2 separate regions of the Homo sapiens genome follow, and region 2 is linked to region 1. Evidence: promoter capture Hi-C in 16 types of primary human blood cells and fetal thymus (Javierre and others, 2016). All regions are on one chromosome and are shown on one strand. The core of a region is centred on a gene start or on the middle of the fragment in contact, and the rest is flanking DNA. Distances in the headings are between cores, read along the strand shown.

Region 1 (4,248 bases), core at 958-3,457:
TCGTGCTCGGGGCGCAGGGGGACTGGTGACCAGACCGGGCGGGGTGGGGGGTGGGCAGGGAAAGCACGTGGTGACCTCCTCGCGGTCCCGAGCTGTGGACAAGAGACGTCTGAGAAAGTACCCAGGGCGGAGGGGAGGGGAGGCGCAGAACGCGCTTTTACAGTTGCCCTGCAAAATAAAAATGCTTTGCAAAGCCGAGTTTCACCCAGCCGATTTCGCAGTCTGGGAGGTCGAGAAGAGGTCTCGGCATTGTGCTGGGGGCGGACCAGGACCACGGGCCAGGCTGGCGCGGAGACACTGCGTGGCCTGCCGCCGTGCCTGGCGGGTGGGCGCCGGGCGCCGGGTGGGCGATCCGGGGCTGGGCTGGGGCGCGGCGAGGTCGGGCAAGGCCCGGGCGAGGCCAGGCCGCCGCCGCCGCCTGCTCCGGGGCTGCCGCGCCGCGCTCGGTCCTCTGTCTGTTTGTTGGCAGGAGGCTCCCGCACACGCGGTGCTTGTAAACATTCAGACACGAGATTTTTCCCAATCAAAATCCACTTCCACTTTTTTTGAAAATCTTCCAAAAAATAGTAAGAGGAGGGAGTTCCTCTCTCCCTCTCCGTGCCGTCGGCGCCCTAAGTTTGCAACTGAAGGGGTTTGGGGGAAGAGGGTGATTGTAAATTTTTTTCTAGATGAGAGATTGTGAGATTTTTGCAGGGGGGCTGGTGGGGGAGTCAAAGAGAAGGCCGTCACAGAAAAGGGTTGGCAGAGCGTTTGGCTTCGGTTTGGGGGCAAGAAATTGTACATTCTCTTGCCTTGTTTTATTTATTTTATTTTTATGTATTTATTTATTTATGTGCCAGTCTTCTCCTTGCTGCCTCTGAGGTTCGGTCGGGAGGGGAGGGCAGCGGCAACCCAGGAGGCAGCAGTCCGGGCTCCCTCCCTCCCTCTCCCGCGTGCCCCCGGCCGCCTCCTCCCCCGGCCCTAGCTCCTGCCCTTCGGCGGCGGCGGCGGCGGCGGCGCGGGAGGGCAAGCGCGAGGAGCCGGCACAAAAGGCAGCGGGACAAACACCCACCTCTGGCCGGAACAAAAGGCGGCAGTGCCGGCCGCGTCTCCCGTCCTTCCCGGTCCCACGGCTCTCCCCGTCGCCGCGGCCCCTCTCCCGACTCCGCGGACTCAGGAGCGCCGGGGGCCCCTTTCCACAGTGCCACTTTCTCACTATTGTGGGGATGACTACTTTCCTCCCGCTGCACACTTGACCGTGAGCGCGCTGGTGTCCAAAAGCCAGTCTCACCTCTTTTCTCCCCGGGAATCGTTTTTTAGACTTGTACTCACTCCCTCCCTACCCCCCCATTTTCTTACGGTGAGTGGGAAGCAACCTCCCTTTCCCCACCAGCTCCCACCCCCAGGTTTGCATGTGAGTTGTTCGCAACCTTAGCATTGTTCATTATTTTGCAAAACTGGCGGGGCGGGGGGGGAGTGGAATCATTGCATTCCTTTTCGAAAAGAGAAATAAAGCGGCGGAAAGGAGGAAAGAGGAGGAGTCAAATTTTTGTAAAATTAAATAAAATTAAAAGGTGCGTGCTGTCTCAAAAGTGCATACACGGCAATGGTTCCAGATGGGATGAGGGTTTTTTCCCCCTTTATCTCTTTTACCTCGACTCTCGGAGGTTTTTCTCGTGAAAAATTTAAAAATGCATGCACACACCCCTCTCTCCCCCTCGCTTTTGCTTCTAGTCCTGCGCGCTCTCGTGATTATTAATAATTATTATTACTATTATTGGGTTACTTACGCGAGAATTCCCGTTTGCTTAAGTGCTGGGGTTTGCCTTGCTTGCGGCGAGACATGGTGGGCTGCGGGGCGGGCGGCGGCGGCGGCGGCGGCGGCGGCGGGCGGACGACGGCTCGGTTCACATCGGGAGAGCCGGGTTAGAAAGAAGGAGACTCCAGAGAAAATATCTTCATCAGTGCCTTTTGACATCCAAAATAAATTAGAAATAATACAAAGATGGCGCAGGGAAGATGAATTGTGGGAGAGCCGTCATGGCTTTTTTTTAAGCAAAAAAAAAAAAAAAAAAAAAAAAAAAAAGAGGGAGAGAGAGAGAAGAGAGATAGAGGGAGAGAGAGAGAGAGAGATGAAAAAAATGGCAAAAGCCCCCCTGAGCTGCAAGTTCAAGTGCGGACGTGACGTCCCTGCGAACTTGAACGTCAGGAGTCTGGATGGACAGAGACACACAAAACATGGGCAGGGCGAGCAGGAGAGAAGGGGAGGAGGGAAGGGGAAGCTCACACCAATGGACACACATCAGGGGCTGGACATGAAAAAGAGACCAGGACAAGCCAATGGCCAGTGCGGGGAGGGGGAGGTGCGGGGCGGGGGGCTCCGCGGACGCCAGACGCGGCCCCCGGGGGAGGGGCGGGCCGAGGGGAGGGGGCGCTGGGGCCGCGGGCTCACCAGTGGCCGCAGCGAGCGCCGCGGCGGTGGCGTGGCCGGGAGAGAAGAAAGGGGTGGCAGGGGTGGGAGGAAAGGGTGGGGGGGAGCAAGACGTGCGCCCTGCTCCCCCCCACACACGCGGACTCTAAAATGAAAGATTATTCAAAAAAGAAAAAAATAGAGCGAGAGTGCACCGGGAGGCTGCAGCCCCGGGCTGGGGAAGCGCGGGCGGAGGGAAGCCAGGTAGAGTTGCTCCCGGACACCCTCCTCCGTACGCACACCCACTTCCCCTCCCCGCCGCCGCCGCGCTCGCTCCCCGCGTGTGGACGCCAGGGGCCGAAGTAAAAGCCCCGAGCCCGCGGCTGCGCTCGGGAAACTTTGCCCGAGGAGAGGACAGCAAAGAAAAATCACCCGAAGTTGAGAGCTGAGCCTCCAAGTTACAGCTCCGCAGCGGGCGAGGGGAGGTGGGAGGGAGCGCACGGCAACGCGGAATCCAGCCTAAGTTTGGAGGGCTGCGGGTCCGGAAGGGCAGCGCCCAAGTCTCCAGGAGCCCGCGCGGCCTGGAAAGAGGGGACCGGGGAGAGGCAGGCGGCGCAGGCCGGGGCCCGAGGGCGCCCCCAAGGCCGAGCCAGGGACCGGGAATCTGAGCGCCCCGCCAAGCGACTGGGTCTGAATGCAACTGAAAGCGCCGAGTCCCCGGCTCCTAAGGGTCGCAGAAAGAGAGCCCGAGGAATAAAGAACGAGGAGCCAGAGTCTGGCCCCCGGAGGGGAGCGCCGGGGGCCTGGGCAAGAGAGGCACCGAGGCGTCCACCTCTCTGAGAGGCCGAGGACAAAGCGCGGGCAGTCCCGGGAGTCCCAGTCCCTGGGAATGTGCTCACGGCGCCGCGGGAGGTCCCCGAGCCGGGTCCCTGGGAGGGACACACCCCCTCCCACTCCAGAGCAACTGCAAAAGCACAGAGGGATGGGAAGAAAATGTTTCTTACGGGCAGAGCACAACTGTTCCTGTGCTGTTACCCAGGGAAAGAGAAAATGGGAATGGAGAGAGAGCGACAGGCTCGCAGGAGCAGCGGGGAGACCACGGTGGTGAGATGACCGCCTCGGGTCACCGCCGCGCTCCCCAGGCGCCGCCGGCCAAGGCGCACACCCAGGAGCCAGCAGCCCCCTCTCGCCTTTCTGCAGACGTTCCCTGGAAATTAGGGAAGACCTGTTGGAAATAAAACCCTGTCTCTTTAATGCACACACGCACACACACGCGCGTGCTGCCGCTGTCAAAAAGCGGGCTTCACTCTGGCGTGGGATACTTTCAGTTTTACGTAAAATGTACAGCAACAGCACCCCCTGCGATTGGAAAGTTTATTCAGAAACGTGCCTGTAAAGTCCCCTGGCGCCTCCCGCCTCCCAGCCTCCCTGCCTGCCAGCACCACTCTGCAGCCGCCGCCGCCGCCGCCGGGGAGATCGCAGTCCGATTCCAAATCTGGAAGGAGTTGGGGGGAGAGGAGAATGGACTCAGGTCCAAGGGAGGTGCGGAGGGTGCAGGGTGGAGACGGGTCGCCATGGCCCGCGAGACCCTGAGCTGCAGGTGGATATGTGTGAGTGTGTCTGCAGAGCGAGGAGCCCTCCTTCCCTCTCCTCGGAGCGGTTCCACAACCCCCGTCTTCTCATCCCCCTCTTCAGTCTAAAGGGTGTCGCTTCCGTAAACTCACCCACCCGGTGGGGGGGCTTTATTGTTTTAAGCGAGGGCCCCGGGCTTGCACGCGCTCACCCATCCCGCAGCCCTGCCGGCAAGCGGCTGTTTATTCCTGTTTCGTCTTAGTAAAGTTTCAAGTCTACTGTGTTAG
Region 2 (3,934 bases), core at 247-2,746, 670 kb before region 1:
AAGCTATAAAAAGTTGGAAGAGACAGATCTATTTCTTCTCACCGAGTGTTTTCAGACATATTGGAATGGAGAGCAGGTTCCCGAGAGCAGGTCTCACTTGGAGGCCCTACCACAATCCCTGCCACTTTGTTTTCAAACAGCCCTTTGTAGCCTTAGCCCCCAAGTCTTCTGGAGAAAGCTTTTTCCTTTCATATGTCTGACCTTATGATTCATCTGGCTCCTGTTCTAAAACCAATTATTACGTATTGTCTTTTGAATTTCACCCCGACACCACTTTGTCCTGACTTAATTCTATGACTGGCTTTTATTCAAAACCTTCATTTTTTCAGGAAGGTGTAAGAGCTGCAAATGGCCTGCTTCTAGAAGCTGTGAGTTAAACAGCAGCTCTGGTGATCAAAACTAGAGAGCTAGCATTTCATATATGCTGTTAAACAAAATGTGTACTTGTTTTATGATGGGGCTGAAAGGAAAACCAAAAACAAGGACCTAAGCAATGAGAGATAGGGTTCATGACTTCAGAAGGAGTATTACCAAAGTTCCTCTAGGCCTCTCTATATTGTTCTCCTGCCCACACTATTGCCTGTTTCAGAACTTGCTCCCCATCTTGTATTCTTTCTGGGTTCACTCCCTGCACCCTGGACTTTAACCTCACTATACAATTATCCAACACATCTATTGAAGGTGATCTCTCATAAATGTCTCCCAAATCCACTCTCTCCTCTACACTCCCATCCAAATTGGTCTAGTTCAAATTTGCCTCCTCCCTCATCTATTCTATCATAAGCCATAGCTTCCAAATTGGACTCCTTTTTTCCAGTTCTCCCTACATCCAGTTCATTTTTCACAGTGCTTTCCTAAAACAAAGATCTGACCATACCACTTGCCAACTTCCAAACCCCCAGTCGTTCCCCAGGATGTGTAAAATAAATTCAAAGTTTTTGGAGAAGCATACTAGTCCCTCCACAATCTAACCCCAACCTATTGCTTCAGCCTCTTCTTTTTTCCCAATACACCTTCTCAGACAGCAGATGGTAGGGCCACTCCAGGCTCTGACTCATCCAGAACATACTGTGCACTTTCCAGCCTGTGCCCTTCCCCGTGTTGTTTCCTCTACTAAGGATGCCATTTTCTTGGCCCCCAGCCCCATCAAAACCTGCCTACCTCATACCCAACCTTCAGGCTCAAACATGACCTCCTCTATGAAGCAACCTCCATTTTCTCTCCAAGCACAGTTCCCAGGTCCCTCATGAGGTCCCCTGGTGCAGCACCTCCCAGTGCTGATTTTCTATTCCAATTAAATCAGAATGCCTGGGAAGGAAACCTCGGGGAGTCAGCTTTTTTTTTTTTTTTTTTTTTTTTCAGAGGCAGAGTGTTGCTCTATTGCCCAGGTTGGAGTGCAGTGGCGCAATCTCAGCTCACTGAAACCTCCACCTCCTGAGTTCAAGCAATTCTCCTACCTCAGCCTCTCAAGTAGCTGGGATTACAGGCATGCACCACCATGCTGGGCTAATTTTTGTAATTTTAGTAGAGACAAGGTTTCACCGTGTTGCCCAGGCTGGTCTCAAACTCCTGGCCTCAGGTGATCCACCCACTTCAGGCTCCCAAAGTGGTGGCATTCCAGGCATGAGCCACCGCACCTGGCCTGGATCAGCATTTCTTAAGGGCTCCCCAGTTCTTTTCATACGGTCCAAGTTTGAAAAGCCCTACCCAAGCATTTGGTTTATATGCTTTCTATTTTTCACATTTAATCAGTATTTATTTATTGAGCAAATACACCACATCAAACAGTTGTGCTATATGTGGGGATACGGAAATAAATCAGGCCCAATATAAAAAGTAATAATAACATTCAATATGTATTATACATTTTATCATGTTTTATAACAAAATGATACCTCATATTTTAGCTATTTGTACATGTCTTTCTATTGCTGTTCCTTGACAATAACTGTTTCTCATTTATCTTTGCATCCTTTAGCACTTAACACAATGACTCATATTCAATAAACAGACGGTGATTTCATTAATTAATATATTTATTAATGTGTTAACTTTTGGATTAATGTGAAGGAATGATATTTTAACTTCAAACTCATCTGGCCTGAAAGAAACAGGAAGTTGTCCTTGCATTGCTGACTCTGAAACTGGTCACACACCCTCATCTGAGAGACAAGGATGGGCCGAGACCTGACGCTGTCCTGTGCCCACTGCCTGGACAGAGGAGATCCTCCTGACCCCCGACCGAGCCTCCAGTGGGCCCTAGATGAGTTCACTGGCTTTTGACAAAGGCACAGACATATACTAACCTCTTTTTGCTCTTTAAGGAACTACAGTTTACCAAGTCAAATGATCTCCACCTTTTAAACACTCGTGCAGCACCTCTCACCCCTACACCCCACCTCCACTTCTAAAGGAAAGGCAAGGAGGAGGGCTTGTTTTTTGTTCTCAGGCCAGGAGAGGGAGGCTCAGAGCAGCTCGGTTTGGCGGAAGTTCAGGGTGTCTGCTGGCCCACTTCCTTGGCTGTGTGTGCTTGAGAGGGAAAAATGATAAGTACGGGGAGCCCTCCGGGAAATTTCATCCACGCATTCACAGAGGCATTGGATAAATTAAATGTTTCACATGCTGCAACAACCAGGGTTTCAACTTTCAAAGAAAATCAACATCCCTCTGAAGAAGTTCACATGAGTGAGTCATTTCTTAATGTTAAAGTTTCCTGATTTAAGGGCATCCCCCTTTAAGAAATTTGAGGACCCACAAACATTTTCCCAATGGCAAGGTCACATATGACAACATGATTGTCACATTCTGGGCACCCAAGCTTCACTGAGGTGAGAAATTAATAGAAATTACAATTGTAAAGTATCTATATTTTACAACATTTATCTTCTTTTCACTTTGTTGTAAATAAAGCTTTGAAAAGGAAACATTATTTTCATTGTGTTAGATTTGTCCCCATCTTTTTCTTTCACATCACTGAAACTCCCAACTCAAGGATGAAATAAAGAAAATCAACCTCAAAGCTGAACCTATCGATTCTACCTTCCTTTCGATTCTCCCCTTAAAATGCTTCAGATGAATAATATTTCACTTCTCAGAAAAGAGAAAATTGATATCTTCGGCAAGCCATAATGCAAATGAGCATTAAAAGTAACAGAGAAGCCACCTCTTTTAATGATTAGTTTTAGTCAGGGAGGGGATCTGCACTCAGTAAAATCTTGACACAGATAAAGTTTTACATTTTTGGCCACTTCCTACTATCATGCCACCAAGAATGTTCTGAGCCACAGCCTTAGGAAACAAGAGACCCCCCTACGGCCTGCCCAGGCCCACAGCTGAATGCCTCCTAGAGATTCGGTGGGTGTCTCCCACCGAGACACCCATCTCTCCCCTCCTCACCACCAAAATGTTTGTGTGTCTTCAGTCCCCCAGGGCCAGCCCCTTCACTGATAAATTCATCCCATCAATGTATCTGTGATTTAATGTAAGAGATTAGCATTTTAACAAGGGCCTTCTGGAAATGCCTTTATCCAAAAAAGAACTATAATGTGACAAGATGTCAAGCCATTGGGAAGACTCTGGGGTGGGGTGGGGGGACACACTCTCCTGGTGTATCCTACACATCACACGCCAGAAAGCCAGCCGCCTACTTCATATCCCCACAGTGCTGGCCCTGTTTGAAAGATTGAAAGTCTTTTTACACAGACTCTCTCAAAGGAAGTTGTCACTTTGGGCTGTGCAAACCAAAACTCTTCCAAAATCAGGTGCTTGGGGAAAAAAAATTGAAGTACTTTTAATAATTTAAATGGCTCTTCTCTGCACATGCCCAGAACCCGAATCCCTTTTCCAACTGAAGTGCTTATATAAAAATTTGACAGCTCTTATAATTTTAAATTGCTCTACACTGAGTATGCCTGGAACCTTGATCACTTCCAAA

What was found. Contacts are between HindIII fragments. The CHiCAGO score rates a contact against its expected background, and 5 or more counts as called.
Region 2: a fragment that was not itself captured here is called in contact with the fragment with the promoter of BCL11A in region 1 in 1 of 17 cell types (fetal thymus); the score reaches 6.5 in fetal thymus.

What each region holds. Positions count from the first base shown.
Region 1 is chr2:60,551,447-60,555,694 of GRCh38, forward strand. BCL11A (BCL11 transcription factor A) reads right to left here and starts at 2,208. Exons shown (of 4, transcript NM_022893.4): 1 at 1,770-2,208. The coding sequence starts at 1,824. RefSeq lists silencers at 1-278, 339-398, 919-1,278, 2,688-2,777, 3,718-3,847 and enhancers at 3,468-3,517, 4,092-4,248. The HindIII fragment of the contact is 6,342 bases long and covers 1-4,248 here.
Region 2 is chr2:59,883,282-59,887,215 of GRCh38, forward strand. No RefSeq gene overlaps it. Among named protein-coding and RNA genes, the nearest start is that of MIR4432, 500 kb to the right of the region's middle. The HindIII fragment of the contact is 2,640 bases long and covers 177-2,816 here.